Regions from separate parts of the Homo sapiens genome. Here region 2 is linked to region 1. The links are contacts of gene promoters, found by promoter capture Hi-C in human tissues and cell types (Jung and others, 2019). All regions are on one chromosome and are shown on one strand. The core of a region is centred on a gene start or on the middle of the fragment in contact, and the rest is flanking DNA. Distances in the headings are between cores, read along the strand shown. Region 1 holds the start of GSK3A (glycogen synthase kinase 3 alpha). Region 2 overlaps ZNF428 (zinc finger protein 428).

Region 1 (6,636 bases), core at 2,361-4,860:
CACATGAGGCTTGCCCCCCTACCTGGCACAAGCAACAACAGACAGGTAGTGGCCATCCAGCTCACTCTGGTCCCGTGGAAGCATCTGGGTCCTCGAACTCTATCTAGGATCCTGAGTCCCAGACTCCAGGCATTGGACTTTTCCCAGAATGCGGTCTCAGCATTCTTCCCCATTCTCTATTCCTCAGTGAGGCCTAGGAACTCCCTGCCCCTACATCCCTCTTACTTCTGGAACTCAACTCCAATCAAATTCTGACACCCTGGAGCTCCTCCTGCCCAAGGGCCCTCCCTGCCAAGACCGAGGCCCTGGTCTGGTTCCTTTCCAGTCTAGGCTCAGTTCTCCTACATCCAGACTAGTCTAAGCTCCAAATGCCAGGCCCTTAAACACCAATTATTCCTCAACTTCCACTTCCTCCATCTCCTTCTAGTTCCCTGAGCCTCTCCTAGCTCACAGGGCACCTCCATTCCATTCTGCGCTGGCCAAACACCTGGGAAGAGCGCGACCTTCAGAACCACCCGCGCTAGCCCTGCCAGGTCCCTTTCTCTCCTGGGAAGAAGTGTAACCAAATGGTTAAGGTAGAGGGTTTGGGAATCAGATTCCAGCCTTGACTGGGGCACTTGCTCTATGACCTCAGGCAATCCTCTTACCTGAGTTTGTTTCCCTGCTTTTAAACTTAGCTTACACTTAGAATGGGTATAACCACAGTACCTACCCTCAGAGAATCTTTATGTAAATTAAACAAGAATTTGCTTATTAAGCACTTACATTGAGCAAATGCCCAGTAAAAGCTCTGGGCTCTCCTGGGATCCACATTTCCCATCTTTCACAGGTCTCATTTCCTCTTTTCCCCCTTCTCTTCTGGCCCATGGCTCTGAAACCCAAGCCTCCAGCTCTCTGGCTCAGGTTCTCCCACCAGTCACACCCAGTCCCCAAACCTCCCTGTCCCCATCCCGCCCAAGCTACCTTGAACCTCTTGTCCTGGAGAACCTTCTTGATGGCGACTAGTTCCCTGGTCTCTGCCAGCCGTGCCTGGTACACGACCCCAAATGAGCCATTGCCAATCACTTTGATGTCCGTGTAAGCCACTTCTTGGGAGCGCTCTGGGCCTTGGCCTAGAGTGGCTACGACTGTGGTCACCTTCCCGCTGTCACCTGGGGAACAAAGGGGATACACGATCCACTGACCCATCCTGCCTGCGCATCACCCTATCCTGGGGCTGTGGGAGGAAGGGAAATCTCTGCAGGAAGCTCGTTGGGGACCTCTTTGTCCCCTCCTCCTCTTTGAGGAAAGGTGGATGCTGGGACCTTCCCAGTGACTTTTCCCCTCTTCCTTTCTGGGAATCTTAAGTCCTGCTCCCCTCCACATAGGAGGATATTGATACCTAAATCTCTCTGCTTCAAGGGTTGGCAACCCCAAATTTCTACTTCTAGGAAGCAACAGATCACTGGTCCATCTTGGTACTGGGAGACATCAGATGTTGACTCCATCTACTCTGGATCTACTGCCCTCTGGCCCCTCCTATTTGGAGAAAGCTTGACCGAGCCTCTTCCACTTCAGGGAGCAGTAACCCTGAGGTACTCCTACTTTAGGAAAGCACTAACCTCTCTCACAGCCTAGAGGATACTGACCTCTAAGTCCTCCCCTGTAGAGCTGGTAACTTTACTGGTTCTTGGTGACAGAAATGAATGTCCTCTCCTGCTATAAGTGCCAGTGCCCTGACCCTCACTTTTTGGTACTTTGAGGTTAGAAAAAAACACTGACCTGACCTCTTCATCTGAGTGGTCCAGAGACCCAGACCCCTCACTATATGTGGGTGGTCCCTAATGGACAAGCACCAAATTATGATAATGATGAACCTGACCTTTATTATCAAGGAGCTATTCCAGCCTCAGTCCTTTGAAGGAAAGCTATAATTCCCAATTCCCATTATTCAAATGGTGGCAAACCTTGGTGCCATTCTTAGAGGATAGTGACCCCTTTGAGTAACTGATGAACCAAATCCATTTTTTTGTTTTTTTTTTTGAGACACAGTTTCGCTCTCGTTGCCCAGCTGGAGTGCAGTGGCACGATCTCGACTCACTGCAACCTCCGCCTGCTGGGTTCAAGCGATTCTCCTGCCTCAGCCTCCCGAGAAGCTGGGATTACAGGCGCCCGCCACCACGCCCAGCTAATTTTTTATATTTTTAGTAGAGACAGGGTTCCACCAGTTGGCCAGGCTGGTCTCGAACTCCTGACCGCAGGTGATCCGCCCACCTCAGCCTCCCAAAGTGCTGGGATTACAGGCGTGAGCCACCGCGCCCGGCCACCAAATCCATTTTGAGGGGCCAGTGACAAGTTCTTTCAGAGGGAGATAACCCTACATCACTTTTTTTTTTCAGAGCCAATGACACCATACCTTAGAACAATTATTAAAAAAGTATAACCTTAGATCCATATTCTGTAGGAAACTGTGACCTACCCTGCTCCATTCCATTTTTGTTAAAGGAGACACACCAAGCCATGTATTTTAAAACATGGACTATGGACTTGGTTTGAAGGATATGCTGACTCCCAATGTCTTTATATCTAAAAGGCAGTAACTATTAATTCTCACCATTGGCAGTACAGCTCAACAAGATTTAGGGTGGGTAATGATGCCAGGTCTTGGTTTTAATAGGGAAGATGATCTGAGTACCAGGTTTGGAAAGCCTGGCCCTATTCTTTGGGGACAAAACACAGTAACCTCAAAGCCCTGCTTCTAAGTGATATTCGCTCCAAATCCCCATCTTCTGAAGGACAGGGAATGCAGATCCCTCTTTTTCGGGGTTGGTCTTATTCTTGTTCTCTTAGGAGACAATAACCCTAGATCCCCATTTGCAAGCGACTGTGACCTCTGATCCAATATTATAATGAATAGCAACATCAGATACCTGTTCTTAAGGCTCAAGGACCCAAGACCTCAATAATGGAAGAACAGAGACTTGTAACCCGTTTCTTTAAGTGTTAGTAATTCTGATCCACGAGTAATTCTGATCTCCAAGAGATGGTAACCCCAAGACTCCTTTTCCTGGGAGGAAGAGGGCTCGGATCCCCGGTATGGGGAGGCACAGTGACCTCGAGCTCCTATCTAAGCACATGAAAGAATCTGATGGATGTCTGAGGAGCTTTGGGAACCCTAATCACCACCCTACACGGGCGCCACTAGTACTCACGGCCCAGCTTCACCCCGGGCGGCGGGAAGCTAGTGCCTGCGCCGGGGCCTCCGCTGCCTCCTCCGCCGCTGCCGCCGGGTCCACCCCCGGAGCTCGAGGCCCCGACGCCCCCACCCATGGCCCCGACAGATGCCTTTCCGCCGCCGGTGCCGCCTGGGCCGGAGGCCGAGCCTCCGGGGCCGCCGCCGCCTCCTCCGCCTCCGCCGCCGGGCTCCGCGAACGAGCTAGTCCGCGCCCTGCCCGAGCCCCCAGGGCCGCCTCCCGAAGGCCCGCCGCCGCTCATGGCGCCGAGCACAGGCCCAGGCTGCGGGGCTCGGGCTGCCCGGGCTGCCCCAGCCGCCGCCGCTGCCGCCGCCTCCCCCGGGCCCTGGCCTCTTCCAGGCCGCGCCGCTCTGGCTTGGGCTCCGGCTCCGGCCCAGCGCCCGCCGCGGGGCACGCCGGGAGATGCAGTCCGGCTGTCGTCCGCGCCGCCGTCACCGCCCTCGGCCCGCACAGAGAGCCGCGTGGCACGCCGGGAAATGAAGTCCACAAAAGCCTCAGAGTAGACCGCGGGAATGATGGGCGGGAATGACGGGTCACGCTGTACGTCGGGAAATGGAGTCCAGGGTAATCTGTCAGCCGACTGTACGACGGGGAGCCCTGAAGCACTTTAGGAAGCAGAGAGCCTGATGCACGCTGGGAAACGGAGTCCACTCACTCAGTCTATTAGCTGTGTATGCCTCCCAGAGCTCGGTGCGCTCTGGGAAATTGAGTCGGCCCGCGTGAACCTGCGGGTCTCGGGCCGTGAGGCAAGCCGGGAAATGGAGTCGTCGCCACGCCCTCACCGCATTGCAGGTGTAAAGCGATTTTTAAAGCACGCCGGGAAATGGAGTCTCAGGTGGTTTTTAAGCCCCAGGTGGATACTGCAGTTCCGGAGATGGGCGAGGAAATGGAGTAGGTTTACGCGCTCCTCTTTCCAGGTACGCTGGGCCGCAGTCCCTGCCGGGAAGTGTAGTCAGCACCAAGGCCTCAGTGCAGTTGCCACAGCGAGCCCTGGTGTGTTCTGGGAAATGGAGTTCGACGTATCCTCCCCATTGACTGAGGGGGCGGGATCGCCCATGAGCTCCAAGCATGCTGGGGAATAGTCCAGACCTGACCCTCTGTGAGGCCAGTCTGCGGAGGCTTGCCGGGAAGCGAAGTCCAATGGCCACCATCAGGGGCGTGTGAACGAAAGGTTAGAGACTGCGGCAGTTCCCTGGAGAGACTTAAAAGTGTTTCAGCGCCTCCTTCCTCGCCCCCAGGTCCTTCTTTAAGAAAGAGCCGAGGTCGATCAAGGACTGCTGGAAAATGGATCCAAGCACCTTTAAGTTCCAGGTGACCATAGATCAGGAAAGAAAAAATGTCCCCTCTCTAACCGCAACTCTGCAAAGATTCGGGAAACAAAGTTCCCGGCGGTTTCTCAGAACACTAACTAGTCTTCGGATACAGTCTAGCTTTTCCTAGCAATGTGGTTCGCACCAGGAAGCTGAATGGAGCATTAAAAAGACGGAAATGTCATTTCTGGGCCTGGCGCTGTGGCTCAGGCTGGGCGCCAGTAGCTCACGCCTGTAATCCTAGCACTTTGGGAGGCCGAGGCTGGCGGATCATCCGAGGTCAGGAGTTCGAGACCAGCCTGGCCAACATAGCGAAACCCCCGTCTCTACTAAAAGTACAAAAATTAGCCGGGTGTGGTGGCGGGCGCCTGTAATACCAGCTACTCAGGAGGCTGAAGCAGGAGAATCGCTTGAACCCGGGAGGCATAGGTTGCAGTGAGCCGAGATCGCGCCACTGCACTCCAGTCTGGGCGAAAAGAGTGAGACTCCGTCTCAAAAAAAAAAAAATCCTGTCTTGAACCACCATTCAGTTTTCAGTTTTTGGTTTGTTTTGAGACAGGGTCTCGCTCTGCCGCCCAGGCTGGCGGGCAGTGGCGCAATCACAGGTCACTGCAGCCTCTAACTCCCAGGCTCAAGCAATCCCCCCACCTAAGCCTCCCATGTAGGTGGGACTACAGGCGTGCACCATCACGCCCAGCTAATTTGGTTTGGTTTGTTTTTTGGGGTGGTGGGGGGTAGCGGGGTGGGCTTCGCCATGTTGCCCAGGCTGGTCTCCAATTCCTGGGCTCAAGCGATTCTACCTCAGCCTCCAACGTGCTGGTATTTCAGGCTTGAGCCACGGCACCGGGCCTCCCACTCTTGTGTTTTGCATCCTCCGCTTCCTAAATTACAAGATCCCGGAAAGCCAAAAATAAGGAAGCCAGCTGCCTCAGGTTTTGTGTACTCAGTGAGTCGTCCTATTTATCGATTAATACCCGAAGGAGAGTAGCCCCCAAAAGGCGCTGGGAAACAGAGTTCCTGTGTCTGTATGTGTCTCTTCCTCCCCCGGAAATACTTAGAAGTAGAATGAAAGCGTTCTCAGCCCCTCCCGCATCCTGGAATGGTGGGAAATGGAGTCTCTGGACTTCACGTTAATCCGAGCTTGTGCTTATACTAACTGTCCTGTCCTTTCTGAAACCAGAAGAAAGTCCTGTCCACTCAGTTTGTTCCTGACTGCAATTCCCCGCGGACACAACTGCGGGGGTCGGTAGCGCCAAAGCCTGTTGAGACTACATTACCCAGAAGGCAAAGTGCGGAACACTTCCGCTCCCTTCACAAAGCAGGTGGCCGCACCACGCGCGGCTAGGCGCGGGCGTTTCTGGGAGTTGCAGTTTCCCAGCCAAATGGTACCTGCTGCCCTCTGATGGCAGCTCTGAGTCAAAAAGTAAAAATTTCAGTCGAGCCCCTTGGCCTAGGGATTCCAACGCGGGACCAAGACGGCTCAAAAGGGCGGCGACATGGGGCAGGATAGCGAGGGTTATTTAACCGCCAGAACCCGTGGGGCATGCGCCGCTGCGTGTGGGCAACCGCCACGAGGGGATTGGGGTCCGTGGGAGTTTGAAGGTGACGGTCTGCAATCTATCAGGATGTTTGTAGAGGATGAGAATGTTCATAGAGGGATGCTAGGAAGGGTTGTAAACGTCTGAGAGAGGCCTATGGGTGTCTAGAAGGGCTAAGAGGAGTCCGTGGAGTGGTGAAGGGGTCTTTGATGAGCTTAGTTGACAGGATAATTACTGGGGACCAGTGGAGAAGCCTGAGGGGACTTAGGCTGTCTGCTAAAAGTTCTATGGGTGGGTGGACGCGATGGCTTACACTTGCAATCCCAGCACTTTGTGAGGTCAAGGCCGTGGATCACTTGAGGTCAGTCAGAAGTTCGAGACCCGCCTGGCCAACATGGAGGAAACCCCATCTCTACTAAAAACACACAAAAAAATTAGCCGGGCGTGGTGGCCCACGCCTGTAATCCCAGCTACTCGGGAAGCTGAGGCACAAGAATCTCTTGAACCTGGGAGGCTGAGGTTGCAGTGGGCTGAGATTGCACCACTGCACTCCAC
Region 2 (6,636 bases), core at 1,641-4,140, 1.4 Mb after region 1:
ATCTGGGCTCACTGCAACCTCCGCCTCCCAGGTACGAGCGATTCTCCTGCCTCAGCCTCCCAAGTAGCTGGGACAACAGGCACGCACCACCACACTCAGCTAAGTTTTTGTATTTTTAGTAGAGATGGGGTTTCACCATGTTGGCCAGGCTGGTCTCAAACTCCCGACCTCAGGCAATCCACCTGCCTTGGCCTCCCAAGCTGCTGAGATTACAGGCATGAGCAACCATGCCTGGCCTGTTGTAGCAGTTATAAAATAGTCATAAAGGTAGCCTCTAAGGATTATTATGAGCACTCAGATTACTGTGAGGACTCAGACTTGGAGACAATGCCAAAGTCAGTATATGGCTCTTACGGCCTGGTTCTCCGCTACTTTCTGACCTCACCTCTTACCTGTCTTCCTCAGTTCCAGCCTCGTGGCCCTGTGTTCTCTTCCCAAGCACCCCAAGTGGGCTCCCACCTCGGGCCATTGCATTTACTGTCCCCACAGACAGCCACAAGGCTCACTCCTGCCCCTTCTCTAGGTCTCTGCTCTGATGTCATCTCAGTGAAGCCTTCCTTGACCACCCTACTTAAAACTGCAACCTTCACACACACAAGCTTCCCACCCTGTTCCTTTTTCTCCATAGCACTTATGACTAACATTCCATAAAATTTGTATTTTTTTTTTTTTTTTTTTTGAGACAGTCTCGCTCTGTCGCCCAGGCTGGAGTGCAGTGGCGCGATCTCAGCTCACTGCAAGCTCTGCCTCCCGGGTTCATGCCATTCTCTTGCCTCAGCCTCTCCGAGTAGCTGGGACTACAGGTGCCCGCCACCATGCCCAGCTAATTTTTTATATTTTTAGCAGAGACGGGGTTTCACCGTGGTCTCAATCTCCTGACCTCTTGATCCGCCCGCCTCGGCCTCCCAAAGTGCTGGGATTACAAGCATGAGCCACCGCGCCCAGCCACAATTTGTATATTTTACTTAAATACTTGATTACTGTCTTCCCCATTATAACCTCCACAAAGGGAGGGGGTTTTTGTTCATTGTGTTGACTGCTATATTTCCAACTCCCAGAGCAGTGCCTGCCATCTCATAGGTGCTCAATAAATCATTGTTGGGTGAATGAGTAAACAAGTAACAGTCCCTAACTTGTAAGGATCTGATGTGACTGTCCACATAAAGCACTGAGCCCAGGGCCTGGTCCACCGTGAGCGCTGACTTAATGATGGCCATTACAGTAATTCAGGTTCTATTCTTGAAGGTTCTTAGTCTCCAACCTTCTATGAGTTAACACATGTAAAGCGCCTTAGAACAGGGCTGGTTGCCCAGTAAATTCTCAGTAAATGATAGCTATTATTATAATTAGGCTTCTATTTTCAAAGTAGCTTCGGCGCCAAGCTTCTGTGAATTACGAATTAGTACTTCCCATCTCTGAGCCCAAGTTTTGGCAAGGCTGTAAAGAGCTGGTCCTTTGCTACCCTTTGACCTCATCCCTACAGCTCTCGCCTCCTTGGCACACCAGGCAGGCTCCTGCCTCCTCCAGCCTGAAGTGCTCTTCCCCATTGATGTACATGGCTCCCCCCGGCTTCAGATCTGTCACCTTCTCAGGGAGGACTATACTCTTTAAAATTGCAACCTCCTTCCAGAACAGTTCTCCCTTCAGTCCTTTTTTAAATTTTTTTCTTGCAACAAATTCCTGCCATCATCCAGGCTAGAGTGCAGTGAGCACAGTGGCACAATTACAGGCCACTCCAGCCTCAACCTCCAAGCCTCAAGTGATCCTGAATAGCTGGGACCATAGGCATGCACCACCAAGCCCAGCTAATTTAATTTTTTGTAGATGGGGTCTCACTGTGTTGCCCAGGCTGGCCTTCAACTCCTGGGCTCAAGAAATCTTCCCACCTCGGCCTCCCAAAGTGCTGGAATTATAGGTGTGAGCCACTGCACCTGGCCTTCCTTCAGTTTTTTTTTTGTGTGTGTGTGTGTGTGTGTGGTTTTTTTTTGAGACAGGGTCTCACTGTTGCCCAGGCTGGAGTGCAGCGACACTTCTTAGGCTCCAGCAATCCTCCCACCTAAGCCTCCCTAGTACTAGGACTATAGCCGTGTACCATCGTTAGCCCAGCTAATTTTTTGTATTTTGTAGAGATGGGGTTTTGGCATGCTGCCCAGGCTGGTCTCAAACTCCTGGGCTCAAGCGATCCACCCACCTCAGTGCTGGGATTTCAGGAGTGAGCCACCATGCCGGGCCTCCTTTCAGTGCTTTATTGTTCTCACAGCATTTATCAGCACCCGGCATATGCTGTATCTTACTTGTTTATGTCTGTCTTCACCAGCAGCCTCTACCCACTCCCATGTAAGCTCCATGAGGACAACGATTTTATTTTATTCACTGCTGTGTTCCCAATGCTTAGCACACAGCAGGTACTCAAAAATATTTGTTAAATGAATTAATGGATCACAATCCCTGTCTCACAGGGTTATTCTAAGAAGCTGATAATCTCATGCAAATTAAGTACAGCACTCTGTAAGTGCTGGGAAAATGGCAGCTGCAATTATCATTAAGGTTCTATTTTTGTAAGTTCCTAGATGCACCATTTCTATGAGTCAATATATATAAAGCCCTTGGACTGGCACCAGATACCCAGGAAGCGCTGAGAAAGCGTAGCTGTGATTATAATTAAAGTCCTCTTTGTGGAAGTTCCTAGGCTATGTGGCAGAAAGCCCTAGCTGTCCTCCATGAACTGTTTTCTGCTTTCTGGGCGCTTGGCTAGACTGCTTCTCCCAGGTTGTTTTTGCAGTTAGCTGCGGCCACATATCTAATTTCTCAGCAAAGGCGTGTCAATGGAAGCAGTGTGTGCCCCTGGCAGGCCAGGGCTTGTAAGACAACACGTGCACCTCACCAGGCATCCTGTCCTCTTCTGCCAGCAGGACCCAGGCTATGGCCACCCAGTCTGGACCATGGGGGAGACAACAGGCTTAAGGGATGGCCTGGGTCCCCAAATGACTCACCCAGCACCATTTTGTGAGTGAGAAACAAAATTCTATTATTAGAGCCTTTACATTATGGGGTCTGTAAGTAAATACATGGAAACCTCATCGAATACAAGCACGCAGTAAATGTTATCTTTCCCAAAAGACCCCAAGGTTCCCCAAGAAGGAGCCCAGGGGGAATACACACACACACACACACACACAAACACACACACGGGCGGGAATACACACACACACACACACACTCTGAACCAACACACACAGATACAGATTTTGGCTTTTATTCTGGCCATCACACATCTACTTCTAAGACAACACAGACCGGCAGTACCCCATCCCCCATGACCACTGTCACAACCCCAATTTCCTCAGCCCCCTCCTCCCACCCCACCCCTTCTGCCAAGCTCCCCGTATGGGGGCTCTGCCTACACCTCACCCCGGGCATGCAGCATGAAGTGCCCGTGCAGCTCCCCCAGGTTGTCGAAGGAATCCTCACATTCCGTACAGTGGTAGGTTCCCTCCTCCTCCTCTTCCTCCTCCTCCTCCCGCCCAGCTGGTCGGCCCTCCCCAGCCCGAGGTGGTTCCTCCTCTTCCTCCCCGAGGGCCCTGCCTTCAGGGGCTGGTGCTTCCTGGGGGGCTGTAGCAGGGCAGCAGAGCCGGCAGGGTGGGGTTCCCGGTGGGGCCTCCCCAAGGGGTGAGCGGCCACAGAGCTGGCAAGGCTGGGCCGGGGGCTGGGCTGCACGGGGGGCCCGGCGGGATGGGCCACCACGGCCCCCGCCAAGGCGCTGCTTCACCTTGTAGCCAGGATCATATTCAGGATCGTCAGTGGTCTCCTCTTCCTCCTCCTCCTCATCTTCTTCCTCTTCGGAGTCCGGCTCTGAGAGAGTGTATTCTGAATCAGAGGAATGCTCGGGGCCTGGAGGGGGACAGACAGGGGAAGACAGTGGTATCAGAGGAAAGAGGGCTAGGCCAAGCTGTCCCCTCCCTGAATCCCCACATTCAGACTTGCCATAGTATGACAAGGATAGCCTAGACACTACCCTTCCCTTCCCCACAGATGAGTCCCCATGGCACAGAACAAGACTGGCACCCAGTAGATTCCCTGTATCTTTGTGTCAAGCAAATGAATGTCTTCCAAGAACTGCATGGGACAGGACTGGGCACAGTGGCTTATGCCTGTAATCCCAGCACTTTTGGGTGGCCAAGGTGGGAAGATCACTTGAGCCCAGAAGTTTGAGACCAGCCTGGGCAATATAGCAAGACTCCGTCTCTACAAAAAATTAAAAAATTAGCCAGGCCTGGTGATGCATTACCTGTAGTACCAGCTTCTCGGGAGGCTGAGGCGGGAGGATCACTTGAGCCGAGGAGTTCCAGGCTGCATTTGAGCCATGATTGCGCCACTCCCTTCCAGCCTGGGTGACAGAGTGAGACCTCACCACTTAAAAAGAATTTTTTTGGCCGGGCGCGGTAGATTACTCCTGTAATCCTAGCACTTTGGGAGGCCAAGGTGGGCAGATCATGAGGTCAGGAGTTCAAGACAAGCCTGGCCAACATGGTGAAACCTCGTCTCTACTAAAAATACAAAAATTAGCTGGGTGTGGTGGCGGGCGCCTGTAATCCCAGCTACTCGGGAGGCTGAGGCAGGAGAACTGCTTCAACCCAGGAGGCGGAGGTTGCAGTGAGCCGAGATCACACAACTGCACTCCAGCCTGGGTGACAGAGCAAGACTCTGCTGTCTTAGAAAAAAGCAAAAAAAAAAAAAAAAAATTATTTGATTCTTTCGATTGATTGCAAAAGAAAACAAAAACTCCATGGGGAGGTGGGGTGGGAGGCATTTAGGAAGGACAAAGCCGGAGTAGTAAAAACCCACCAGTAACAACAGCATCCTTGCTATTGTAGGAGCCCTGTTCTTATACATTAACTCACTAAATCCTCAACAACCCTTTGAGGGTGGTACTATTACTATCCCCAGTTGATGGATGTGGAAACTGAGGCACAGGGAGGCTAGACGACTCACTCCCCTGTGGTTACACAGCTCTGGCAGGAAAAGCTGAACCTGGGCCATGGCTGACACTGGATCATTTTAGGGAGACAACCATTTGAAAAGGTATTTGTGCAAATTAAAACACATGCATACACACAGATGTACTTTTATATCTGTGGCCATGGAGAGAGAGAGAGAGAGAGTTAGGTGAATTAAAACATTTATTTATAGGTAAGATATATTACTGTGATTTCACAGTTATCAAGGACAGGCCTAGGACAAGTTTAGGTTTAAAGAAAAAGGCCTGTAATCTAGCACTTTGGGAGGCTGAGGTGGGCGGATTGCCTGAACTCAGGAGTTCATGACCCACTCTGGGCAACATGGTGAAACCCCGTCTCTACTAAAAATACAAAATTTAGCCAAGTGTGGGGTGGTGGGTGCCTATAGTCCCAGCTACTCAGGACTCTGAGGCAGGAGAATTGCTCGAACCCGGGAGGCGGAGGTTGCGATGAGCCAATATTGAACCACTGCACTCCAGCCTGGGTGACAGAGCAAGACTCCGTTCCCAAAAAAAAAAAAGAAAAGGGGAAAAATTTATAGTTGATATACGGAAAAGGGCGACATCAGCTGCCATTATGGGGGCGCACACACAGAGTAATGGTTGGGGATGGGGTCCCTGTGACCACGGTGTGGGAAGTACCAGCTTCTTCGGCCTTGGTGGTAGGAGCCTGCCAAAAGCCTCACCTTGTATCCATCCCAGCCCCATTCCTCAGTTTCTCCCAGAACCCAGAGGATCCTGCTACTGCACCCTGTGCTCCGCCCTTGCTCCTGTCATCACAGTGGCCACAGGCTCTTCATACCAGGCTCCTCACCTTCCAACACCCCAGGCCCATACCTGCCTCAGGGTCTTTGCCACCCTTTCTGCCGATGTCACTCTCCATTCCATGTCTCTTCTCAAGTGTCACCTTCTCAGTGACGCCCTGGCCACTCCCCAGCACTCCCTACGCCCCTTACTCTGCTTGATTTTTCTCCATCTTCTTTTGAGATAGAGTCTCGCTCTGTCATCCAGGCTGGAGTGCAGTGGCGTGATCTCAGCTCACTGGAAACTCCGCCTCCTGGGTTCAGGCAATTCTTCTGCCTCAGCCTCTCAAGTAACTGGGATTACAGGGGCGCACCAGCATGCCCAGGTAATTTTTGTATTTTTAGTAGAGACGGGGTTTCACCTTGTTGGCCAGGCTGGTCTCAAACTCCTGACCTCAAGTGATCCACTCATCTCAGCCTCCCAAAGTGCTGGGATTATAGGTATGAGCCACCGCAGCCGGCTCATTTTTCTCCATCTTCTGACTCACTGCATTCAACATTTACTTGTGTGTTTGTTTACTGCCTGTCCCCGAGAGCTGGGACTTTGTCTGGTTCACTGCTGTGGCCCCAGCATCTAAAACACTTCCTTTGTGCAAAGAAAGTACTTATGACATATTTATGGCATGGATATCTCTGCATGGAATTTGACAAACCTTTTCTGAGGCTTCACACACACTGTTCCTCCCTCTGGTGGGAATGTCCTGCCCTAGTTTTTCCCACCATCCTTTAGGACCCAGTGGGAGGCCTTCCTCTTTGGTGAGGCCGTCCCAGACCTCCTCATCCCAGGCAGCCAGTCACTTTTTTTACCACCCTCCT

The links. Contacts are between HindIII fragments. The study calls those that stand out against the background at their distance.
Region 2: a fragment that was not itself captured here is called in contact with the fragment with the promoter of GSK3A in region 1 in 1 of the 25 tissues and cell types used here (dorsolateral prefrontal cortex).

What each region holds. Positions count from the first base shown.
Region 1 is chr19:42,238,992-42,245,627 of GRCh38, forward strand. GSK3A (glycogen synthase kinase 3 alpha) reads right to left here and starts at 3,611. Exons shown (of 11, transcript NM_019884.3): 1 at 3,192-3,611; 2 at 964-1,151. The coding sequence starts at 3,474. RefSeq lists silencers at 3,153-3,432, 3,463-3,672 and enhancers at 3,963-4,172, 4,102-4,896, 4,233-4,282, 4,897-5,690, 5,293-5,352. The HindIII fragment of the contact is 9,309 bases long and covers 1-6,636 here.
Region 2 is chr19:43,604,217-43,610,852 of GRCh38, forward strand. It overlaps ZNF428 (zinc finger protein 428), which reads right to left. Exons shown (of 3, transcript NM_182498.4): 3 at 3,008-3,891. The coding sequence ends at 3,401. Among named protein-coding and RNA genes, the nearest start is that of SRRM5, 4.6 kb to the right of the region's middle. The HindIII fragment of the contact is 8,844 bases long and covers 1-6,636 here.